2 separate regions of the Homo sapiens genome follow, and region 1 is linked to region 2. The links are contacts of gene promoters, found by promoter capture Hi-C in human tissues and cell types (Jung and others, 2019). All regions are on one chromosome and are shown on one strand. The core of a region is centred on a gene start or on the middle of the fragment in contact, and the rest is flanking DNA. Distances in the headings are between cores, read along the strand shown. Region 1 overlaps SPIDR (scaffold protein involved in DNA repair). Region 2 holds the start of CEBPD (CCAAT enhancer binding protein delta).

The links. The method cuts DNA at HindIII sites, captures the fragments that hold promoters and counts their contacts. A contact is called where the count stands out against the background at its distance.
Region 1: a contact is called between a fragment that was not itself captured here and the fragment with the promoter of CEBPD in region 2, in 4 of the 25 tissues and cell types used here (adrenal gland, aorta, dorsolateral prefrontal cortex and 1 more).

What each region holds. Positions count from the first base shown.
Region 1 is chr8:47,549,115-47,555,206 of GRCh38, forward strand. The region is part of intron 8 of SPIDR (scaffold protein involved in DNA repair); the gene reads left to right. Among named protein-coding and RNA genes, the nearest start is that of CEBPD, 190 kb to the right of the region's middle. The HindIII fragment of the contact is 3,540 bases long and covers 631-4,170 here.
Region 2 is chr8:47,733,739-47,739,894 of GRCh38, forward strand. It overlaps CEBPD (CCAAT enhancer binding protein delta), which reads right to left and starts at 4,426. Exons shown (of 1, transcript NM_005195.4): 1 at 3,175-4,426. The coding sequence starts at 4,382. The coding sequence ends at 3,573. It overlaps SPIDR (scaffold protein involved in DNA repair), which reads left to right. Exons shown (of 20, transcript NM_001080394.4): 20 at 1,569-2,568. The coding sequence ends at 1,712. RefSeq lists an enhancer at 3,450-4,388 and silencers at 3,785-3,974, 4,465-4,574, 4,615-4,694, 4,785-5,254. The HindIII fragment of the contact is 24,041 bases long and covers 1-6,156 here.

The DNA.
Region 1 (6,092 bases), core at 1,151-3,650, 190 kb before region 2:
GCTGCATAGTATTCCATGGTGTATATGTGCCAATTTTCTTAATCCAGTCTATCATTGATGGACATTTGGGTTGGTTCCAAGTCTTTGCTATTGTGAATATTGCTGCAATAAACATATGTGTGCATGTGTCTTTATAGCAGCATGATTTATAATCCTTTGGGTATATACCCAGTAATGGGCTCGTTGGGTCAAATGGTATTTCTAGTTCTAGATCCTAGAGGAGTCGTCACACTCTCTTCCACAATAGTTGAACTAGTTTACAGTCCCACCAACAGTGTAAAAGTGTTCCTATTTCTGCACATCCTGTCCAGCACCTGTTGTTTCCTGACTTTTTAATGATTGCCATTCTAACTGGTGTGAGATACTATCTCATTGTGGTTTTGATTTGCATTTCTCTGATGGCCAGTGATGATGAGCATGTTTTCATATGTCTGTTGGCTGCATAAATGTCTTCCCTTGAGAAGTGTCTGTTCATATCCTTCACCCACTTTTTGATGGGGTTGTTTTTTCTTGTAAATTTGTTTGAGTTCTTTGTAGATTCTGGATATTAGCCCTTTTTCAGATGAGTAGATTGCAAAAATGTTCTCCTATTCTGTAGGTTGCCTGTTCACTCTGATGGTAGTTTCTTTTGCCGTGCAGAAGCTCTTTAGTTTAATTAGACCCCATTTGTCAATTTTGGCTTTCGTTGCCATTGCTTTGGGTGTTTTAGTCATGGAGTCCTTGCCCATGCCTATGTCCTGAATGGTATTGCCTAGGTTTTCTTCTAGGGTTTTTATGGTTTTAGGTCTAACATTTAAGTCTTTAATCCATCTTGAATTAATTTTTGTATAAGGTGTAAAGAAGGGATCCAGTTTCAGCTTTCTACATATGGCTAGCCAGTTTTCCCAGCACCATTTATTAAATAGGGAATCCTTTCCCCATTTCTTGTTTTTGTCAGATTTGTCAAAGATCAGGTGGTTGTAGATGTGTGGTATTATTTCTGAGGGCTCTGTTCTATTCCATTGGTCTGTATCTCTGTTTTGGTACCAGTACCATCCTGTTTTTGTTACTGTAGCCTTGTAGTATAGTTTAAAGTCAAGTAGTGTGATACCTCCAGCTTTGGTGATTTTGCTTAGGATTGTCTTTGCTATGCAGGCTCCTTTTTGGTTCCATATGAACTTTAAAGTAGTTTTTTCCAATTCTGTGAAGAAAGTCATTGGTAGCTTGATGCGGATGGCATTGAATCTATAAATTACCTTGGGCAGTATGGCCATTTTCACGATATTGATTCTTCCTATCCATGAGCATGGAATGTTCTTCCATTTGTTTGTGTCCTCTTTTATTTCATTGAGTAGTGGTTTGTAGTTCTCCCTGAAGAGGTCCTTCACATCCCTAGTAAGTTGGATTCCTAGGTTTTTTATTCTCTTTGAAGCAGTTGTGAATGGCAGTTCACTCATGATTTGGCTCTCCCTTTGTCTGTTATTGGTGTATATAGGAATGCTTGTGATTTTTGCACATTGATTTTGTATCCTGAGACTTTGCTGCAGTTGCTTATCAGCTTAAGGATCTTTGGGGCTGAGACAATGGGGTTTTCTAAATATACAATCATGGCATCTGCAAACAGGAACAATTTGACTTCCTCATTTCCTAATTGAATACCCTTTATTTCTTTCTCTTTCCTGATTGCCCTGGCCAGAACTTCCAACACTATATTGAATAGAAGTCGTGAAGGAGGGCATCCCTGTCTTGTGCCGGTTTTCAAAAGGAATGCTTCCAGCTTTTGCCCATTCAGTATGATATTGGCTGTGGGTTTGTCATAAATAGCTCTTATTATTTTGAGATATGTTCCATCAGTACCTAATTTATTGAGAGTTTTTAGCATGAAGCGTTGTTGAATTTTGTCAAAGGCCTTTTCTGCATCTATTGAGATAATCATGTGGTTTTTGTCTTTGGTTTTGTTTAATGTGATGGATTACATTTATTGATTTGCGTATGTTGAACCAGCCTTGCATCCCAGGGATGAAGCCAACTTGCTCGTGGTGGATAAGCTTTTTGATGTGCTGCTGGATTTGGTTTGCCAGTATTTTATTGAGGATTTTCACATGGATGTTCATCAGGGATATTGGTCTAAAATTCTCCTTTTTTGTTGTGTCTCTGCCAGGCTTTGGTATCAGGATGATGCTGGCCTCATAATATGAGTTAGGGAGGATTCCCTCTTTTTCTATTGATGTGAATAGTTTCAGAACCAATGGTACCAGCTCCTCTTTGTTCCTCTGGTGGAATTTGGCTGTGAATCCATCTGGTCCTGAACTTTTTTTGGTTGGTAGACTATTAATTATTGCCTCAATTTCAGAGCCTGTTATCAGTCTATTGAGAGATTCAACTTCTTCCTGGTTTAGTCTTGGGAGGGTGTATGTGTCCAGGAATGTATCCATTTCTTCTAGATTTTCTAGTTTATTTGTGTAGAGGTGTTTATAGTATTCTCTGATGATAGTTTGTATTTCTGTGGGATCGGTGGTGATATCCTTTTTATTATTTTTTATTACGTCTATCTGATTCTTCTCTCTTTTCTTCTTTATCAGTCTTGCTAGCGGTCTATCAATTTTGTCGATCATTTCAAAAAACCAGCTCCTGGATTCATTAATTTTTTGAAGGGTTTTTTGTGTCTCTATCTCCTTCAGTTCTGCTCAGATCTTAGTTATTTCTTGCCTTCTGCTAGCTTTTGAATTTTTTTGCTCTTGCTTCTCTAGTTCTTTTAATTGTGATGTTAGGGTGTCAATTTTAGAACTTTCCTGCTTTCTTTTATGGGCATTTAATGCTGTAAGTTTCCCTCTACACACTGCTTTGAATGTGTCCCAGAGATTCTGTTAGGTTGTGCCTTTGTTCTCATTGGTTTCAGAGAACATCTTTATTTCTGCCTTCATTTCGTTATGTACCCAGTAGTCATTCAGGAGCAGGTTGTTCAGTTCCCATGTAGTAGAGTGGTTTTGAGTGAGTTTCTTAATCCTGAGTTCTAGTTTGATTGCACTGTGGTCTGAGAGACAGTTTGTTACAATTTTTGTTCTTTTACATTTGCTGAGGAGTGCTTTACTTCCAACTATGTGGTCAATTTTGGAATAAGTGCGATGTGGTGCTGAGAAGAATATATAATCTGTTGATTTTGGGTGGAGAGTTCTGTAGATGTCTATTAGGTCTGCTAGGTGCAGAGCTGAGTTCAAGACCTGGATATCCTTGTTTACTTTCTGTCACGTTGATCTGTCTAATATTTACAGTGGGGTGTTAAAGTCTCCCATTATTATTGTGTGGGAGTCTAAGTCTCTTTATAGGTCTCTAAGTACTTCCTTTATGAATCTGGGTGCTCCTGTATTGGGTGCATATATATTTAAGATAGTTAGCTCTTCTTGTTGAATTGATCCCTTTACCATTATGTAATGGCCTTCTTTGTCTCTTTTGATCTTTGTTGTTTTATTAGAGACTAGGATTGCAACCCCTGCTTTTTTTTTGTTTTCCATTTGCTTGGTAGATCTTCCTCCATCCCTTTGTTTTGAGCCTATTTGTGTCTCTGCATGTGAGATGGGTCTCCTGAACACAGCACACTGATGTGTCTTGACTCTTTATCCAATTTGCCAGTCTGTGTCTTTTAATTGGAGCATTTAGCCCATTTACATTTAAGGTTAATATTGTTATGTATGAATTTGGTGCTGTCATTTTGATGTTAGCTGGTTATTTTGCTCATTAGTTGATGCAGTTTCTTCCTAGCATTGATGGTCTTTACAATTTGGCATGTTTTTGCAGTGGCTGGTACCAGTTGTTCCTTTCCATGTTTAGTGCTTCCTTCAGGAGCTCTTGCATGGCAGGCCTGGTGGTGACAAAAATCTCTCAACATTTGTTTGTCTGTAAAGGATTTTGTTTCTCCTTCATTTATGAAGCTTAGTTTGGCTGGGTATGAAATTCTGGGTTGAAAATTCTTTTCTTTAAGAATGTTGAATATCGGCCCCCACTCTCTTCTGGCTTGTGGAGTGTCTGCCAAGAGATCCGCTGTTAGTCTGATGGGCTTCCCTTTGTGGGTAACTCGACCTTTCTCTCTGGCTGCCCTTAACATTTTTTCTTCCATTTCAACCTTGGTGAATCTGACAATTATGTGTCTTGGGGTTGCTCTTCTCGAGGAGTGTCTTTGTGGCATTCTCTGTATTTCCTGAATTTGAATGTTGGGGAAGTTCTCCTGGATAATATCCTGAAGAGTGTTTTCCAACTTGGTTCCATTCTCCCCGTCACTTTCAGGTACACCAATCAGACATAGATTTGGTCTTTTCACATAGTCCCATATTTTTTGGAGGCATTGTTCGTTTCTTTTTACTCTTTTTTCTCTAAACTTCTCTTCTTGCTTCATTTCATTCATTTGGTCTTCAATCACTGATACCCTTTCTTCCAGTTGATTGAATCAGCTTCTGAAGCTTGTGTGTGCATCACGTAGTTCTCATGCCATGGTTTTCAGCTCCATCAGATCATGTAAGGTCTTCTCTACACTCTTTATTCTAGTTAGCCATTCGTCTAATCTTTTTTCAAGTTTTTTAGCTTCTTTGCGATGGGTTCGAACATCCTCCTTTAGCTCGGAGAAGTTTGTTGTTACGATCATCTGAAGCCTTCTTCTCTCAGTTTGTCAAAGTCATTCTCTGTCCAGCTTTGCTCTGTTGCTGGCAAGGAACTGTCTTCCTTTGGAGGAGAAGAGGCACTCTGATTTTTAGAATTTTCAGCTATTCTGCTTTGGTTTCTCCCCATCTTTGTGGTTTTAACTACTTTGGTCTTTGATGATGGTGATGTACCGATGGGGTTTTGGTGTGGATGTCCTTCCTGTTTGTTTGTTTTCCTTCCAACAATCAGGACCCTCAGCTGCAGGTCTGTTGGAGTTTGCTGGAGGTCCACTCCAGACCCTATTTGCCTTGGTATCATCAGCAGAGGCTGCAGAACAGCAAATACTGCAGAACGGCAAATGTTGCTGCCTGATCCTTCCTCTCAGATCTTCGTCTCAGTGGGGCACCTGGCTATATGAGGTTTCAGTCTGCCCCTACTGGGAGGTGTCTCCCAGTTAGGCTACTCGAGGGTCAGGGACCCACTTGAGGAGGCAGTCTGTCCGTTCTCAGATCTCAAACTCCGTGCTGGGAGAACCACTACTCTCTTCAAAGCTGTCAGACAGGTACGTTTAAGTCTGCAGAAATTGGCTGCTGCCTTTTGTTCAGCTATGCCCTGCCCCCAGAGGTGGAATCTGCATAAGCAGGCAGGCCTCCTTGAGCTGTGATAGGCTCCACCCAGTTTGAACTTCCCGGCACTTTGTTTACCTACTCAAGCCTCAGCAATGGCAGACGTCCCTCCCCCAGCCTCGCTGTCGCCTTGCAGTTCGATCTCAGACTGCTGTGCTAGCATTGAGCTAGGCTCCGTGGGCATGGAACCCTCTGAGCCATGCGCGGGATATAATCTCCTGGTGTGCCATTTGCTAAGACCATTTGGAAAAGTGCAGTATTAGGGTGGTAGTGTCCCGATTTTCTAGGTACTGTCTGTCACGGCTTCCCTTCCTAGGAAAGGGAATTCCCCGACCCCTTGCGCTTCCCGGGTGAGGCAGTGCCCCACCCTGCTTCGGCTCACACTTTGTGGGCTGCACCCACTGTCCGACAAGCCCCAGTGATATGAACCCTGTAACTCAGTTGGAAATGCAGAAATCACCTGTCTTCTGCGTCATTCACGCTTGGAGCTGTAGACTGGAGCTGTTCCTATTCAGCCATCTTGGAACCTCCTCTCTTCTTTGTGTTTAAATACATATTGCACAGTTAAATTTTCAAAAGCAGGTGGCCTGTAAGTTTGATCATTTGGAAATACCAGACTTTTATGCTTCCAGTTCTTGGTCTAGAAATTAATAGCAAATTTTTTTTCCTAAATCTTAGTCTTGATCTAACCTAGAGTACTTATGAGTAAACAAGTGGTATAAAGTGGTATAATCTGTTCCTTTCTATTCTGTCTTCTGTCTCTGTTTTGCTAGCCTTCCTCCCACTCTGTACTTATGATCATTATTTGACTTTCCCAAAGGGTAGATTTTAGAAGCTGTATATGGACTCCTAGAA
Region 2 (6,156 bases), core at 3,176-5,675:
CCCATGTGTGAGCGAGTGAGCAGCTGCACTTGCCGTCCATGCCACCTCAGAGCCCTTGGGAAGGCCTCAGCTTCCATTACCAAGTTCCTTCTCTTTGCCTGTCTTGACCAGTGACACCCACTTCCCCCATCACTACATTAAACCATCCTGTTGACTTTATTCTTTTTCACCAAGGAAGCCAAAACTCTTGACAGAGCACACTGAATAGGCACCACGCCTGTCTTACAAATGGGAAAATCAAAGTCCCCCCACGAGTTGGCGTCAGTAGCGTTCACATCCCAGACTGATCCTGACATTTATTTTTACAAAACAAACCATCTCAAAACTTGGTGGCATCAATATTCATTCTGTGCACAGAACTCTTGTTTGGACAGGGCTTCATCCGGATAGCTCCACTGGGCATTAGCGGGTGCCCCCAAGGCCGGTGGGAGTCACAGAAGGCTCCTACGTCCAGGCCACAGCTCTGGCCGGACCCCCTCACAGCATGTGTGTGGATCCCACGGGCCAGCTGGAAGCTGGGCACCTTTCCTGACCAGGCGTGGAACATCACTTGGTGTCCCTTCCACCGCACTGTGTTCATGAGAAGCCAGACACTGAGGCCAGCTCAAACTCAGGGAAAGGCAGTGAGACTCACACCTTTGAAGGGAAGGGCACCAAGGAGCCACATTCTACCTGCTTTGGCCACGTTGTCTGGCTTCTCCAGCCTCAGTCTCTTTGGCCATGACACCATAACGATGGGAGGGGTGAGTTAATAGACACCAAACAGAACTGCTGTAGCAACTGCCAAATGCCTTGCACAGAGGAGGAGTGTGGGGTGCCCATGATATTACTCTGCAAGTGACATTGCCTTCTAGGGCTTTAATCTCCCAGAAAGCCAGAGATGGAATATCTCAGTGCTTCTGAGCCTTTATTTTCAGCCCTACCCGCAACAGCATTCTGCAGCTTGATCTATAATGGGGTGCACCACACCCTCTCAGCCTGGTCAGGGATGGGGGCCAAGGACTCCCTGTACCTGTCTCATCTGGAGACGAAACTCACCTGGGACTAACCAAAAAGAATTAGAAGAAAAAGCGAAGTCTCATTACAAAAACACAGAGGATTTTAGCCCAGTATAACTCTAGAAGAAATGGAATCCTATTAAGGAAGGAAGTTTGGGGCAAAGCACCAGGAAATCCCTCAACCGGAAGTGTTGCTAGATTGAGGAAGTGTCCTAAAGGAAGTGGGAGACAGCTGTGGGCACTGTGTGCCCAGCCCCGGCCTTCCCAGCAGAGTCTGTGTGCATCGTGTCCCAAGTAAAAACAATTCAGTTACCAGAATGGGGTAGTTCCTTCACTTGCTAAAATAAATGGGTGTGTGGGTGTGTGTGTGTGTGGGTGTGTGTGTGTGTGTGTGTGTGTAGTGGCTCTTCATTTGTTTCTCCTTCCTACCACTGTTCTCAGCCATTTGAGGAGTGGAAGGTCGTGGACTGGGGAAAGGGCCTTCCACTCTGGCTCTCTGGTTTTCCGTGTTGTTGGGAACAGTACGTCCCAGGCTGTTTGCTTTAACCAGCGTGCCTTTTATCACTGCAGAGCTACGAAGTGAAGAGTGTCCTCGGAAAGGAAGTGGGGTTGTTAAATTGTTTTGTCCAGTCCGTAACCGCCCACCCGACCAGCTGCATTGGATTGGAGGAAATCGAGCTTCTGAGTGCAGGAGGGGCCTCTGCAGAACACTAGCGGTTGCCGCAGGATCTGTGAACTTTGCAATGTGGCTGCAAGGGTGGTGGTGGTGGTGGTGATTTGGGGTAGTTATTTGTTAACTATGGACACAGTGAACGTAGTTTACGATCTTGAAATGAAACTTAGATTTTTCTGGGGAAATGTTCAGATACAGTTTTGTGAACTGTAAATCAAAATACCTTTTTCTACAGTTTATCTTTTATTTTCTGCAAATTTAGGAACATATTTACTCGTTTTCACATTGAATCTTAAGTTTAAGCTCTTCATTTGGTATTTAGGCAATATATGAGAAAAAAATTTTTTTTGTTCATTTGTAATTTTAACAAGTTGAACATTTTACCATGATTGAACATGTTTTTATTACAGTATTTAACATTCCCCCAAAGAATACCCTGCAAAGTGTAAACCTTTGTCCCATACTGTGATATTACTGTTCTGCTACAATAAATGTCAAACCTAAGCACTTTGCAGTTCACTACTTTTGGGAAAATGTTCTAGGGAACTGTATCACAGGTGAAACTGTTACCCATAAAGTGTAGCTCTCTGAACTGGTGTGATCGTGTCTCTGCTGAATGGTGGTGGGGATAGCTGGCTCCACCACACACACCTGTTTTAATTAGGCTGGGTAATGTGCACGGAGAGCAAAGATCACAGACTAAGGAGCAGTCAGTCGGATATTTGCTTTGCTGGCAAAGATTTAAACCAAGAATTAATTATCTTTGGACACTATAAAGATTTTGTTCCCTTCCTTATAGCAATATAATCATGACAGGCCATGGTTAACTACATCAGATACACGTAGCAGCCGTGACCAAGACATGGTGCCCTAATACCAAGTGTTCTTGGGTTAAAGGCAGGCGGCTTTTTAATTAAATCTTAAAGCACTGCAATTACTGGCAAGACAGCTGGTCTTAAGCAGTTTTGTGACTGCCCTTTTCATCCACTACATGACTATTCCGGCCTTTCTGGAGCACTTTTGAAAATCTACTTGACTCTGTCCACAAGACTGAGGAAAGTGAAAGCAAAGTCCCGGGAAAGCGGGAGATGATTCAGCCCGGGGTTCTGCCCCTCGCCCCTCCAGCAGCCTCTACAGTTAGGGAGCTCTTGAACTGTTCTCAGCAGGGGCCCCCAAAAAGTCAACCCTTCCCCAGGTCTGCGTTCTTCGGGAGAACACCTTCTGCTGGAAAGCTGCTAGCTTACCTGAGCTCAGCCGTGCTCCACCTAGCTTAGGCAAGTTAAATAAGGCCAGGAGAGAGCCTTTAATGCGTTTTAAAAGCGACAGACCCTCTCTCCTGAGTAGCTCGGGCCTGCGCCCCATCCCCCCGCCCCCCCCACACACACACCTGGCGCCCGGGCTCCCTGGTGCTCGCTGGCTGCGGGTCCGGAACGCACCCTTCCCGAGCCGGGTCCTGCGCCACCGGCGGGCGGGCGGGAGTCACTGCGAATATAGGAAGCAGGGGCGATTTCAAATGCTGCTTTATTCTTACAAATACTGTAAAAATTAATATAAAAAAGTGAGCATGCTCAGTCTTTTCCTCTTATCTACAATACAAAGGGTTTGTCTGAAAAGTCTGGTTTTTTTTCTTTTTACAAATGTACCTTAGCTGCATCAACAGGAGTAAGATGTAGAAAAAGCTACCATTACAAAAATAATTTAAGGGAAAATAAACACGTTTAGCTTCTCTCGCAGTTTAGTGGTGGTAAGTCCAGGCTGTAGCTTCTTTGCGCTCCTATGTCCCAAGAAACTGCAGCGGGCACCCGGCGGCTCTGGCTGCGCCAGGGCAGGGCGCGCTCCGCTCCGGGCCGTCGGGTCTGAGGTATGGGTCGTTGCTGAGTCTCTCCCGCCCCGGCCGCGCGTTACCGGCAGTCTGCTGTCCCGGCGGCCGGCAGGAAGGGCGGGCTGGGCAGCTGCTTGAAGAACTGCCGGAGGCCGGCCAGGTCCCGCGTGAGCTGCTCCACGCGCTGGTGCAGCTTCTCGTTCTCAGCCGACAGCTCCACCAACTTCTGCTGCATCTCCTGGTTGCGCCGCTTGGCCTTGTCGCGGCTCTTGCGCACGGCGATGTTGTTGCGCTCGCGCCGCTGCCGGTACTCGGGGCTGCCGCGGTCCGGGCCCCTCTTGCCGGCGCTCTTCTCCCGGGCGGGGCCGGGCGCGGGGGTCTGCCTGGGGCTGCTGCGCGGCGGCTCCGGCGACGTGGGCGGGGTGGGCTGCCCTGCGGCCGCCAAGCTCACCACGGTCTGTGCGCACGCGGCCACCTGCGCGGGCAACAGCGAGCCGGGCGCGTCGCCGTCGCCCCAGTCGGGCTCGCGCTTGAGCAGGCGGGGAGCGGCAGGGCCCGGGCCCAAGGGGCGCGCGGGGCCGCCGGGAAGAAGCTCCAGGGGCCCCGCGCCGCCCGCCTTGTGATTGCTGTTGAAGAGGTCGGCGAAGAGCTCGTCGTGGCACAGCTCCAGGGTGGGCACGGCGGCCATGGAGTCGATGTAGGCGCTGAAGTCGATGGCGCTCTCGTCGTCGTACATGGCGGGGGCGGCGGCGCCTGGCTCGCCTAGGGCCCCTGGCTCGGCCCCGCGGCCCGGCTTGCCCGCCCGGCCCGGTTCGTAGAAGGGCGCAGGCTCCGCAGGCCAGGGCGCGCCGCGCGCCGGGCCGTCCAGGCTGAAGAGCGCGGCGCTCATGGCGGCGTCGGGCCGGGCTCTGCGTCCAAGCGAGGCTGTCACCTCGCTGGGCCCAGCCCCGCCGCCTTTTCTAGCCCCGGCTGACGTGCACGCCCCGCCCCGACTCCGGCACCGCGGGGGCGCCCCGGGGCCGCGGGGGAAGGGGCGGGGGCGCCCTGGGAGCCCCCCGGAGCCGCCCCGAGCCTTCCCGGGGCGCGCCCCCTCTCAGTTCCTCCCCGGGGCCCCCTCCCCGGCCCTGGGGACCCCCAGCCCACGTTGCAGGAGGGTGCCCGCGCTGCTGCTCCCTCCCCGGCCCGGGCCGGCCTGCGCTGCGCTGCTGGGAATGACACTCCCTCTGCCAGCACTCCAGGGCCTTCTCTTCTTCCTGTTTGTGGGCTTGGAACCTCCTCGCTCCTCGGGGTTGGGAGTGAAATCAAAACCAGGACTTGGCCGCAGCGCGCGCGTCCCAGGCCGGCTCCTGTCGCCGGAGGGCGGGGGGTGGAGACCCGTGGGAGAGGACCCGCGCGTCCAAGGACGCCCCCCGACCGTGGGCACGCGCGTGAGGCCCTCGCCCCGCGCCTCCACCGTGGGACCAGATGCGGGAAGAGGCGTGGGGGACCAGACGTGGGGACAGCGGCGGCCTGGCAGGCGGGGAGGGCTGCCCGCACCGCACTCGGGCGCCTCGGGGAATCCGGGCCGGTTCTCGCTGCTCTCCTCGGAGGTCCCGGGTCCGGCCGGCCCTGGGGGTCGAGGCCCAGAGACGCGGCTGCTGCGTCCTGGCCGAAAGGCCGACGGGACGCTGTCGCCAAAAGCAGAGCAGATGGGGGAGACGCGGTCACGACACCGCGTCCTCCGCCGGCTCCTCGAGGTGCGGGCTCTCCGGCCGGACGCTACTCCCCGACCCCGCAGACCCGGGCGTCCGCCGCCAGCTCCCGCGCCCGCGTTTCTTCCAGGTCTACGGAAGCAGTGCCATCGTGTGGCGGCATCTTGCGTTAGACCTGTTTTTAGTTCCAGGCTCTTTCCCTGTTAAATATTCCAAAAAAGTGCCTTGAACCTAAAGTAGTTGGGTCCTTTTTGGGAAACAGGTAAGATCTACCAGTAGCTATAGCAGGGTGCAGATGGGCCTCGACTCACGATGGGGTTACATCCCGGTAGACCCATCGCACACTGAAAATGTCTTAAGTAAGAATGGGCTTTGTCATGTGTCCTGCAATTTGAGGCAGGCATTTCTGGTCAGACCCATTTATTATTTTAAATTAAAAATATGGTTTTTTTCAGCCGAGCACAGTGGCTCATGCCGGTAATCCCAGCATTTTGGGAGGCTGAGGTGGGCGGATCACTTGAGGTCAGGAGTTTGAAACCAGCCTGGTCAACATGGTGAAACCCCATTTCTACTAAAAATACAAAAATTAGCCAAGCGTAGTGGCGTGCGCCTGTAATCCCAGCTACTCGGGAGGCTGAGGCAGGAGAATCGCTTGAACCCGGGAGGCGGAGGTTGCAGTGAGCCGAGATCGTTCCATTGCACTCCAGCCTGGGCGACAGAGCGAGACTCCATCTCAAAAAAAAAATTGAGATGGGATCTCACAATATTGTCCAGGCTGGTTTCAAACTCCTGGGCTTAAGAGATTCGCCGGCCTCAGCCTCCCAAAGTGCTGGGATTACAGGCGTGAGCCACCATGTCGGGCCCAAATCCATTAAATCACTATCGCTAGTCACACCTGCTCCATGTCGAGTCTCTTCCTGCGCAGGCCTCTCACCAGATCTGCGTCGGAACACCAAGCTCTACTAACTGCTG